4 separate regions of the Homo sapiens genome follow, and regions 1, 2 and 3 are each linked to region 4. Evidence: promoter capture Hi-C in 16 types of primary human blood cells and fetal thymus (Javierre and others, 2016). All regions are on one chromosome and are shown on one strand. Each heading gives the region's core, a stretch centred on a gene start or on the middle of the fragment in contact. The rest is flanking DNA. Distances are from core to core; before and after follow the strand shown. Region 1 overlaps CDYL2 (chromodomain Y like 2). Region 2 overlaps DYNLRB2-AS1 (DYNLRB2 antisense RNA 1). Region 3 overlaps CDYL2 (chromodomain Y like 2). Region 4 holds the start of CDYL2 (chromodomain Y like 2).

Evidence for each region. Contacts are between HindIII fragments. The CHiCAGO score rates a contact against its expected background, and 5 or more counts as called.
Region 1: a contact is called between a fragment that was not itself captured here and the fragment with the promoter of CDYL2 in region 4, in 2 of 17 cell types (endothelial precursors and erythroblasts). The highest score is 5.5, in endothelial precursors.
Region 2: a contact is called between a fragment that was not itself captured here and the fragment with the promoter of CDYL2 in region 4, in 4 of 17 cell types (megakaryocytes, non-activated CD4 T cells, endothelial precursors and 1 more). The highest score is 6.9, in megakaryocytes.
Region 3: a contact is called between a fragment that was not itself captured here and the fragment with the promoter of CDYL2 in region 4, in 2 of 17 cell types (endothelial precursors and megakaryocytes). The highest score is 15.7, in endothelial precursors.

Annotation. Positions count from the first base shown.
Region 1 is chr16:80,602,527-80,605,497 of GRCh38, forward strand. CDYL2 (chromodomain Y like 2) reads right to left here. Exons shown (of 7, transcript NM_152342.4): 7 at 1-2,020. The coding sequence ends at 1,862. Among named protein-coding and RNA genes, the nearest start is that of LINC01227, 31 kb to the left of the region's middle. The HindIII fragment of the contact is 8,354 bases long and covers 1-2,971 here.
Region 2 is chr16:80,558,630-80,561,628 of GRCh38, forward strand. All of the region lies in intron 1 of DYNLRB2-AS1 (DYNLRB2 antisense RNA 1), which reads right to left. Among named protein-coding and RNA genes, the nearest start is that of DYNLRB2-AS1, 3.0 kb to the right of the region's middle. The HindIII fragment of the contact is 2,980 bases long and covers 168-2,999 here.
Region 3 is chr16:80,623,046-80,625,996 of GRCh38, forward strand. All of the region lies in intron 3 of CDYL2 (chromodomain Y like 2), which reads right to left. Among named protein-coding and RNA genes, the nearest start is that of LINC01227, 52 kb to the left of the region's middle. The HindIII fragment of the contact is 2,662 bases long and covers 14-2,675 here.
Region 4 is chr16:80,803,268-80,805,994 of GRCh38, forward strand. CDYL2 (chromodomain Y like 2) reads right to left here and starts at 1,331. Exons shown (of 7, transcript NM_152342.4): 1 at 883-1,331. The coding sequence starts at 906. RefSeq lists silencers at 112-261, 542-611, 1,222-1,531, 1,552-1,611. The HindIII fragment of the contact is 3,614 bases long and covers 1-2,727 here.

The DNA of each region.
Region 1 (2,971 bases), core at 427-2,926, 200 kb before region 4:
GCTCAGGGCCACGAATACATTCCACCTGCCCTGCCCAGTGCACCTGATTGCCAGGAAAAGATAAAGGACCACAGAGAGTTAGAGAACTGTCACCAGAACTCTCTCTTCTAAGCCTGCCTCACCTCCATAAGCTGTGCCCACTTCTTGCTGCCTTATTCCACTCTCTTCAAAGAAGGGCCAAGAAAGGCTGGTGCCCAACAGGAAAGGGGAAGAAGGGGAGGGCCAAGGGCCTCCAGGAATACGCAGGGGCTGTGATAGAAACGGAAAAAAATCCCTCCATCCTGAGAATCTGAGAATCTAGCTTTTTCTGGGTGCTTGACCCATGGTTTAAACCTCACGCAGAACACATCCCTTCCATTTGTCTGCTCTCAACTTCAGGTTTTCCTGAACTTTCTCCTCACCACTCAAAACCACAACCCCCAATCCCTCCTTCTCTGTAGTTAATCCAGGGACTTGAATCTGATGGTCTAACACAGCTGCTGGAGTCCCCTTGCAGCCCAGGGGCACAGGGGCAAGGAGATCTCATTCCTGGTCATTGCTCCCTATGTACATAAAAAAACTAGAAAACAGATGAGTCATTTCAGCTTCTGGAGGGAAAAGATTCAGACCTCCAGACAGCTCAGCAGAGTGGGAACTCTTCCCCATCCCCCTGGCCAATACCAGAAATCACTGATCACATGGAAGCAACAGACTGCAGGATCCAAGTTCAGTCATTTGCCCCAAAGAAAGAAGTCTTATTCTAGACAGTATGCTATTCTCAGGTAGGGCCTATCCCCACTCCTGCCCAACATCACGCAATTTGGGACTGGGTCTGTTTCAGGATCATTCAGGCTAAGAGGGCCCTTTAACTCCTTAAAGACAGCAGAGGGAAGAAAAAACTCTCCCAAGATGTCTCCTAAGGACAAACCTAAGGAACTAGTATTCTATTATTACAGCTGAGAACCGTTTTACACAGAGGTGCAGCGCTATTCCTTTTGTCCACAGAAATCCTTCTGTTTTCATCTCTCTAAACTTTATTTCTACATGGTTCATTGCTAGAATGCACCAAACGGCATGAACCTTGTGTGGGATTTGGTCCAGGGTAGTATGAAAATAGTATCTGTGTGAACAACAGACATCACAATATATAAACAAAAATAAATAAATAAAACAAGTCCAAGGAAAGAAAAAACATTTCCCTAGTAGTTTGTTTTTGCAAAACTAGCTTTACATATAATACACATAAATTATCAGAATTTCCACTTACATTGTTTTAAAAATATATATTTAACAAAACATTTCTAAATGTACAATATCTGGGTTTGCAAATCACTCAATTGGGTTTTAAGACCAAGCCCTAATAGTCACACAGATTTGCGTCGGAAAGGAGACTGAGGCCAGGTGTGCACAATCATTTTGCTCATTGGTCTGGAAATTCCCTAAGATTGGTCGTCCTCTGACACCCGATCTAAATACAACCAGAGAGAGCCATGATGGCCAAGTCTCCAAGTCAGAGGCACTGTGTAGACACAGCCTGAGTCAGAAGAATGTGAAAGTGGTCTTCCCCTTCCTGGACCGTCATGGTGCATTTCAGCAAGTGGGGAAAGGACAGCGGTGCTTGGCGGAGCCCTGGGAAGATACAGCCTTGGACAGCTCTCTGGCCAGGAAGGGCAGGGAGGTGGGGGAGGCCAAGTATGCTGCGTTTTCCATCCATTACACAAAATCAAACCAAGGAGGAGCAACCAAAGGACACGAGGAAATGGACACAACCCTACGTATAAAGAGACACCTTGACAAACTCCTTGGCCGGGGCAGACACTGTGCTCTGGTTTCCGAAACACAGGGCAGAGCTGGAAGTTGGGGGCCCGTGAGCTGGGGCCCCTCAGACTTCATAAATTTTGTCCTGCAGGTAGCTGAAAAGGGAGTCAAGGCCTTTGGAGGAGCTCCAGAGCTGCTTGAGCATGAGGCATTCCTTCTCGTTCACGTCTTCCAGCACTGATTTCAGGAAGCTCCGCACGAGGCATTTGGACTCCTCTAACACCTAGAGGGAAATAGACAGGCCTGATTAGCCGGGCACCAGGGACTCTGCTCCAGAACTAGGTACCTGGCCCATGGGGCACTGGCCAACCTCCCATACTCACAGCCAGAGAAGGCTGCCTCCTCCAGCCTGGGCCTTCCCAGTCCCATGTTTCCAGCACGGCCATGAATGGATCCCAGATGTGTCAAGACGTGAACACTGTGAGGCCCTGGGATGGCTCAGTGGGGCCCATGTCACCCCAGACCACTAGAGGCTTGCCTGTTGCCCAATGGTGATACAAACACAGAGTCCTTTTCTATAGGTGTCATGAAAAAGTGTGGGAGACACTGTTTTAACCTCCCGTGATTCATTTTCATGATCTGTTGGCAATAACTCAAGGATCACTGAGAACACAGAATAAGACGATGAAATGAACGAATGGTTGTCACATACAACTCACCCTGAGAGCAATGCCCCGTGTTCAGGCTACAATGTTAGTAATCATGGTAGTAACAACTAATAACACTCAAGGCTATCACCTTCATAATCATTATAGTAAAGAGTAAAAATCATAGGAATGAATAACAATCATCACAGCCATAGTAATAATTGTAGTAATGAGTAATAATGATCATAGTAATCATGGTTATAAATGTAGTAGCTGCTGTCCACAGCTATGATAAATGATCATAAATGATCTATGATTATTCATTACTAAAGTATTACGTATATACACATATTATGTATTATATACATTATATATACGTATAAACACATATGTATATAGGTAAACACATGTATATATGTATATACACTATAATATATACATATTATATTATGTATATGTATAATATATAATTATGTATATGTATTATATATAATATATACATATTATGTAAATATAGTATTAATCCCACAGTGTTACTATGATGATTACTACCATCATCATAGTAATGAGCAATAATCATAGTAATA
Region 2 (2,999 bases), core at 408-2,907, 240 kb before region 4:
TTATCCCCATCCTATTTTCCTACTTTAGGAACACTGCTCCCTGGATCACAAGATTGGTTGCAAAAAAGGTCCACCAAGGTAATCAGTGCCTTTGAAGAAGACAGAGTTAGCTAAATCTCCTAAAAATACTCAAGACAGGATCCTGACCAATTAATTAGCAGCTTCAAAGCTTGAAGTTCTCAATTCACATTGCAAAATGAATCAAGGCAGGTCACTGACTCTCACAGGCCTCCTTCTGTATCTGCTCCTGCACAACTTTCTGCTTCTTGAATAGCCTCAAGGAAATATCTGGAGCCTCCTGATCAATGCCAGGAGAGCAGAAGGCCCGGCTTCTCAGAACAGGCTCCAGCCATCTCAGCTGCACCCTTTGGGGAGCATAAATGGGAGGCCTGTATCAGCAAGTCCCACATCTCTGGGAAAAGAATCATCAGACTGCAATGCCCCAAATGGTGCCAGCAGCCAGATCTTGTATTCAATATGAGCTTTAAGTTGTTCACCAACTCTGAACCTTTGCATTGGGTATTCGGTCATATCTCAGGGGAAGTGGAGGAAAGTAAATGTCTAGTATCGCCAAGAAAAAAAATTAAAAGCACAACACCGTCAGTGAGGGCAGGAGGACAGGAAAGGGGATATTATCGGACATGTTTACCTATTCTTGCCAAACCTGGCAATTTCCAGGAGAGGCAAAGAGAGATTATTAACCGTTTATGAAATCTTGAATTAATAAAAACGCTGGCTCCATCTAAGGCTCTAACGGAAAGAAGGTGTGCTTCTTAATCAGAGAACCATTAACCAGGTGGCATCCCATTCTGCAAGCATTTAACCATAATTGCTTTAAGCCAGGCACACTTTATGCCCGTGAACAGACATGGGTGACGTCAGGTCTGCCTAAAGGAGCTCCTGGTGTAATAAGGGAAACAGGCATGCAGAGATGTACATGTTCAATACAGTAAGTTAATAGCAGCACATGAAGTATGAGTGAGGGACAGTGGAAATGCAGAAAAAGGACTGCTGGTGTGCATGGTGTTTAAGGAAAGCTGCATTAGGACAGACACACCTGAGCTGGACTATAAAGGGGGAATAGGAGTTTACGGTGGAAAGAAGAGAGAAAGCACTATCTGGACAGAAGGAACCCCAAAGGAGGGCATGCTCTAGGCAAGTGGCTTTTCAAACCTTGCTTTAGGAAACAGTAGCCTTTGCTCACACAGAACCTTGATCAAAGGCCAGCAAAGCTACTCTCCATGAAGCAGGACGGGGCTCCTTTTCCATGCCATTCTCTCATCCTGCCCTTGGCCACTCCACACTTAACACACAGTGGTCCTCACCAGAGTCTCATGGAACCCCAGGGCTATACAAGCAGACTTAGGAAACCACTGAACTAAGCAATACAAATTCTGCATTTGCAATGGTTAAAGTCAGAACTGGGATGGCCTTTTGAAAGTTTTGATACTGTCAGGCCACCCTAGATCCTTCCAGTTTTACTCCCCTCATCAAGTCTGATGACTTCATTCTTTCTTTGGAGGTGTCTGAAATTACCACCATGGTCACCTCCTGCAAAATCAGTTAGTTGTGTGGGTTCCCCATCTCTCTTCACATCTGGAAATGACTTACAAACAAGGATCTATCTTCTCCCTGCATTTTCTCCCACCAAAACCCACAAATTTTATTTAATGAAAAGTCACATAGCACTCAATATACCTGGACAGTGTCCCAAGCCCCTCCCAGATCTAACCAGCACCAAGTAGATACTTCATAAAAACTTGAATTAAAAACACCCTTTCAAATCTCAGCTTATTTTTCAAGATGATCTATTCCAGGGTTTTCCACACTTGCCTGATCATAACAGCAAGTTATGATACTTAAAAATCCTGGTACTTAAGAATCCAGATTCCCAGGATTCTGATTATCACTTCTCGTGTCTTTCTTTTCCAAGTGTGGTCAGGGAAGAGCAGCACCAGCACCACTTGGGAGCTTGTCAGAAATGCAGAATCCTAGGCCCTATCCCAGACCTACTGAGTCAGAATCTGCATTTAACCCGATTCCTAGGATTTTCTCATTCCCATTAAACTTTGAGAAGCACTACTCCAAGTCAGGGGACTTTATTCCGCCACCCCCCACCCCCAGCAAATGCCCTGGAGGAGAGGGGCTATAATTGGGAAAGTGGGTGAACATAGCAGCTCCATCGCTCTTCTCTGAATGAATCTCCCTCCACTGCCAAGTCCAGGCCACCCACAGCCACAGTCAGGAACCCTGAGAGAAGAAAAGGACTATTGTATATAAGTCAAGGTATGCCCCCATCCTGACTAAAAGAAAGAGAAAGCAGACTCCTGTAAAATCCACCCAAAGTAGGGAATCCTGATTCCCCAGCCAGGTTTCATGCCCCCAAGCATTTGTGAGTTCCCAGGGGAGCCTCAGGCTGCCAGTGAGCCAGTCCACCCATTTTCCATGTGGCATCTCCATGACCTTCCCCTACACCTCCTCCAACCCTCTTCCCTTGGCACTCACATGTCCACAGGACAATGCCATTCCTTCCAGAACTACTGAGTTCTGAACATCACAGACACTTCCTACAGGAACCACTGAACTAGAGGATACAACCCCACTCACCTGCCACCACCATGTCCTCCCATGCACGATTGCCACCTGCAAGGTCCGTCTGGAATTAGAAGACGGGAGTCCTGTTTGGGCACCTTGGGAAGTCTACTCTTTGAGTTTTCACATTTCAGAAAGTTTCCTAGATATAGACCTCATTCTCTAATCAGAATGGTTCTTTCACTCAGAGAAGGTGGTCTTACCAAGTTAAGCCTGCTTGTCGTGACTTCCTCTTCACTTAGGGTGAGTTCTTTCCTGGGAGCTCCTAAACATGCATGCAAACGTATTTCTGATAGAGACAGCTTATTCATCGGCTAGATGTGCCTGGATCCCAGTGTGAACACAACCTGGGCTCAAACCAGGTTCCTAGAGCACGTGTGCAACGCAGTGTAGAGTAAAGGAGTCTA
Region 3 (2,951 bases), core at 95-2,594, 180 kb before region 4:
CTGGCCAGCTCAAAGCTTCCTGCGGAGATGGTACAAGCTCTGTCTGCCCCAAGCACTTTCAAACTTCGCTGCTCAAAGTGTAGTCCTTGGAACAGCAGCAACACATCCCTCAGGAGGTGGCCAGAAATGCAGAGTCTAAAGCCCCAGCCCCGACGTATGACAGGGGGTTCCAGAAGGTCCACATGCGCCTCTGGGGCTACGGTTGGGCACAAGCTCCACTTCTACCCCACAGTATCTTGGGTGTTCTGGGGTGAAATCAATAGCCTCTCCTGGTCTCCCTATTTGTAAAATTCAGAGCTACCTCAGATGAACCAACAAACAAGATGCAAGTAGACTGCTTAGTGCAGTGCATGGCACATACCCTGCAAGATGTCCCCGTTTATATACTGACCCTACGGAACAGGTCAGCTTCTGCCCCAAGCACTTTCAAACCTCACTACTCAAAGTATGGTCCTTAGACCAGCAGCTTCACATTCCTAGGAGCTGCCTAGAAATGCAGAGTCTTGGACCCCAGCCCAGACCGACAGGATGAGTTTCTTCATGTTCATGGGACCTGCAGGAAATTCATATGCATGTTATTGTTTGAGAAGTGCTGCTTTACGATATGAACTCACTTAGCCTTCTGGGGGAGTCACTTGTTGAAGCTCCATTTTATGAATGACAAAATCAAAGTACAGTCACTGTGAGAAGTTTGCAAGTATGGGGTGGAGCTAGACTAGGACTCAGGAAGTCAGACTTTGGGGACCATGTCCTTCACCGCAGGCTAGGCTGCCTCTCAAAGCATCAGGGCTTTTCATCTGAAGACCTCCACATGATAGCAGTGTGGCTACGGGAGCAGCAGGAAATGAGCTCTGTGATGCCCAGGGGAAAGCAGATCCTTCTCCCCTCCCAGACTGTGGATTTTAGGATGGAGCCAGGATCTGAAAGTGAGCTCCTGCCACATGCTACGTTCTGAGGCCCAAGCATCATCCAGACCCTCCAAGTCTGTGTACTGACTGAAGCAATCCCCCTCACACCCCTGCATACTCCCCGACTCCTTCCAATCACAACCTTGCAGCAACACTGCGTATCTAGACTACACAATGTCTCTTGGGTGCCTGGTATTCACAAGGACTCAAGGCAGTTGGCCAGGCTGAAAAGGTACAGGCTTTGGAGACAGGAAGCCTATGATGGAATCGGCTTTACCACAAACAGGCTCAGCCCTTCTAGTCCTTCTGCTACCTATTTGCCATACCACAGTCAGGACAAGCCACTCCAGCAAATAATTTATTTTTGCTGTAGGAAAACTCTCCCATGAGAAGCTAAAACTCCATACCTGCCCTGTATGTGGATTTGAAGTTCTGAGTTACCACACCCACATGGGGAAGAATCCACAAGATAAAAAAATTAACACAGAAATTGGACACAGGCTAGTAATATCCCTGAGGTGTCTGATGGAAATGAATGTAAAAGTACTCTGGGGAGAAGCTGCAACCCAGACCGCATGGGAATTACACAGGAAAAAAAACCCTAGCAGGAGATGAGCTCACAATCAAAAATCACAAAACACTTGGGAAATACAAGTTGGCATACTCAGCAAATGAGCGGATTACATAACATGACTTCAAGTAATACAAGGATCCAAAAGAGACTGTAAAATAGGGATGTTTCAAATAATCACAGAGAGGAAAACAGACATGAACAATAAGGAAAGAACAGGAGAATATGGGGAAAAAATAGATTTGAGGAGAAAAAGAAACTTCTGGAAATGAAAAACAAAGTCATGGACATCTGCTGAGATCAACAGCAGATTAGGTGGTGCTAAAGGGAGCATAAAGTAACTGAAAGACCTGAAGTAATTGACCAAAACGTAGCACAGAAAAACAGAGATGGAAAATATAACGGAGAGATTAAAGACAAGAATGCTAAGATTTAAAATTGGTGCTGTAGGGATTCTATCAGGAGATCACAGAGAAGAGGAGAAAGTCAATATTGAAAGAGATAAAGGATGAGAATTTAACAGAATTGATGAAAGATCCACTAGTTTCCTATGGCTGCTGTAAAAAATTACTATAAATTTGGCAGCATAAAATAACATAAACTTATTATCTTATAGTCCCTTAGGTCAGATGTCTGATGCAGGTTTACTGGGTTAAAATCAAGTTGTCAGCAAGACTGCATTCCTTTGTGGAGGCGCTAAGGGAGAATCATTTTCTTCCCTTTTCCAGCTTATAGAGGCCACCCACATTCCTTGGTTCCTGGCCCCTTCCTCCATCATCAAAGGCAATAATGCCGAGCTGGGTCTTCCTCACCTTCTCAGTTTGTGTCACTCTGACAGATTCTTCTGCTTCTCTCATCTACATTTAAAGACCCTTGTGATTACATTGAGCCCATCCAGGTAGTCTAGAATACTCTCTATTTTAAGGTCAGCTAACTGGCACCCTTAATTGTATATCTGAAACCTTAAATCCCCCTAGCCATGGAACCTAGCATAGTCATAGATTCTGGAGATTTGGACATGAACATCTTGGGGAGAGGGCTTCTATCTACCACAGACTTGAATACTAAAATTTAAGAACTACAACAAAAAGCTAAGCAATAGAAATAACAATACACGCAAGCACAGACATATCATATTTAAACTTCAGAACATCAAAGACAAAGCAAAACCTTAAATACATCCAGAGGAAAAAGAAAGCTTACCTACAGAGGGCAAATATTTAACCGGAGGCAAATTCTACATAGCAGAAATAAATTCCAGAAGGTAGCAGAATACAATTGTCAAGGTGCTGAGGAAAACAACTGTCAACAAATTCTTCACTCAGCTAAATTCACTTAAAAGGAAGGGTAAAAATTAGGCATTTTCAGTCAAAGAATGTTTACCATTTTTAGACCCTCACTAAAAGAACTAAAAAGGAATGTACTTCAAGAAAAAGAAACTATATTCAGAAACAAAAACTGACCTGCAAGGA
Region 4 (2,727 bases), core at 81-2,580:
TTGGGAAGACATGAGAGTATCCAACGCTGGCCACTACTCATTAGGACCTGGAGCCAGGTATCCACTGAGGGTGACGAGAGTACTGGGCGCTGGGCTGGCATCTGTGTCCTATGTCCCCAACACCTCAGACTTCCACGTTCTCCTCCCACCCAGGGCCCTCCGCAGCGCCCCCTTTCGCCCCCAGGGAGCACGACACCCGCAAGGGCCACCCCCACGCCCGAGCCCGGAGGGCGTCCGAGCTGGTGCGGGGGCAGCAGGTGGGGGGTGAGGGAGGTGGCCCGGGGACCCCGGGGAGCGGTTTGGCGGTTGTCCCCCCGAACCCCCACCCAGCCTCCCCCTTCGCAGCCCCCCGGGACCCCGCCTCGCCCCGGCCAGGCTCCGCTCCGATCGCCCGCCCCCCTCCTCCCCCGCGCCCCCGGCCCAGCCGGGCCGCGCAACCCCCGCCCCACACCCCCGCCGGCCGCGGCGCGCCCCCCCGCATTCCCAGCACGTCCGGCGCCGACTTTTACCTGTACTTTCTGTACTCGAGGCGGCTCGTCGGGCGAGAAACACCTCCCCGGGACCGCTACCTCCCCCGCCCCGGCTCCGCCCGGCTTCCTCCTTCCCCTCCAAGGCCGCAAAGTAGATGGAGTAAGAGAGTGTGTGTGCGAGAGAAAGAGAAAGAGGGAGCGGGCGCGGGCGCCGCGGGAGGCGGCGGGCGGCGGGCGGCGGGCGGGAGGCGCGCCCGGCCCCCGCCACCCTCCGGCCGCCGCCGCCGCCGCCGCGGGCTCGGCAACTCCGGATTGCGCCCGGCCCCGGCCCCGGCCCGGTCCCCGCCGCCCGCCGCCGCCGCCCGCCGCCGCCCGCTGACTGGGGCCGGCCCGCGCCCCCGCGTCCCCGTACCTCGTAAAGGTCCCCAGAAGCCATGCCAGGCTGCGGAACTTGGCTCGCCGGTGTGCGCGTCTGCTCGCTCGCGCCCTCCGTGCGTGTGCGCGCGGGGTCCGGTGTGCGCGTGTGTGTGCGCGCGTGTGTGTGCGAGTGTGTGTGGTGTGTTGAGTAAACTGTGTTTTTGCAGAATGACAGGCTTGGGGGCTGCCTATGCGCAGAATCAGAGCGGGCGGCGGCGGGGCTGGCGTAACCGGCAGCAGCGGCGGCGGCGGCGGCGGCGGCACGAGCGCGGGCAGCAGCGACGGCCGCGCAGCGCGCCCGGGAGGCACGGACGCGGCCCGAGCGCCGCGGCCCCCGCGACCCGGCGACCCGGCGGCGGTGGCTGCAGCCGGCAACGGCTCGCCCCGGCGCCGCCTGCAGGAAGCCGCCCGGCGCCCGCCGCCGGCCCGGACGCTGCTGCCACTGGGCGAGTCCCCGCCCCCCGGGAGCCCGGCCCGGCCCCCGGGGCGGGGAGGCGGGGGCTGCTGCCCGGCCGCGCCCCGGGGGACCGGTCCCAGAGTCGACTAGCGCTCGGGCCCGCCCCGCCACCCCGGGCCGGCTTCGGGAGCAGCTGGCGGGGCCCCCGGGGGGCGGCGGGCCAGGTGCCCGCCGGGTGCGCCCGATCTGGGGCCGCGAAGGGGCGGCCGGGGAGCCAGGTAGAGGGCTGCGGCTGCAGACCTCAGGGAAGGGGCCCCAGCCGAGCCCCGCCGGCCCGGGGTCCCCACCTACCTCCTCCACCCTCGAGGGGAGTGGACGCCGCCTGGGAGACCTGGCCCCTCGGGGCTGCGCGGCCCCTCCCTCCAGGCTGGGTTGTAAGATGTGGAGGCCACAGGGAGGAAGGATGAAATGGCCCATCCAGAGGCACCATGGGGATCCAGGACAGGCGTGGCCACCCCATAAACCCTGGAAAGTCTTTAGAGCCAGGGGTGGCCTTCCCTCAACAACCCCTCTCCCCGAATTTATTCACTCATCCCTTACTCAAACATTTACCAAAGTCAACCCAAGTGCACAGTGTCCCTGGACAGGCAAAACTGGGACCCTGCCCAGAGACAGTTTGAATCCGCAAGTGAGGAGTGTAATGGAGCACTCAGTTGTTCTAAAAGGTCATCCTGCGTGTGACAGGCTGCGGAGCTGGAGGAGCTAGAGAAGCTCTCCAAAACCCAAATCCGTTCCTAAGCCATCTCTCATGGATAAATGGTCACCCCTCTGCTTAAAGGGTTCTCCTTATAAATATTTATGTATATAGTTACTTCAGAACCTGCAAGGTCAGACTTCTGAAATTGGAGGGAAGATCTTCATCCCCACCCATGAAATGCCTGCCTGGCTCCAGATGTGATGTATCATTAACTCACATGCTCCCTGGATCATTTTCTACTTGGGAGGCTGTGGGCAGGTCACCGAACCCTGATGGGAGATGGTGATAGTCACCTAAGTGATTTAAATAGAATTAAGGAGAGGATCTACGTATACATGAAGTGACCTGTCCATCCCAGCAGAACTCAATAAAGGTGATTTGTATCTGAGTCTCAACCTGGACTGCCCTCATGGAGAGTGAGATGGCAGAGGGGCTCGATAAATTGTTTAATCCTGAGGTTGTCAAACTTTGAAAAGTCACCAAATTTTTTAATCCAAAAAAAAAAAAAAAAAAAAAAAACTCCATGGAACCTGAAGCATGTCTGGCTCATTCCAGGACACATGGATTTGCATTTGCTGTTCCCCCTGCCTAGAATGTCCTTCCACATTGAATCCATCTGGAACATTCTTGTTCTTCGTATAGGGGCTTGTTTATCTTTGTATCGCAAGCATCTTCCACTGTTCCTG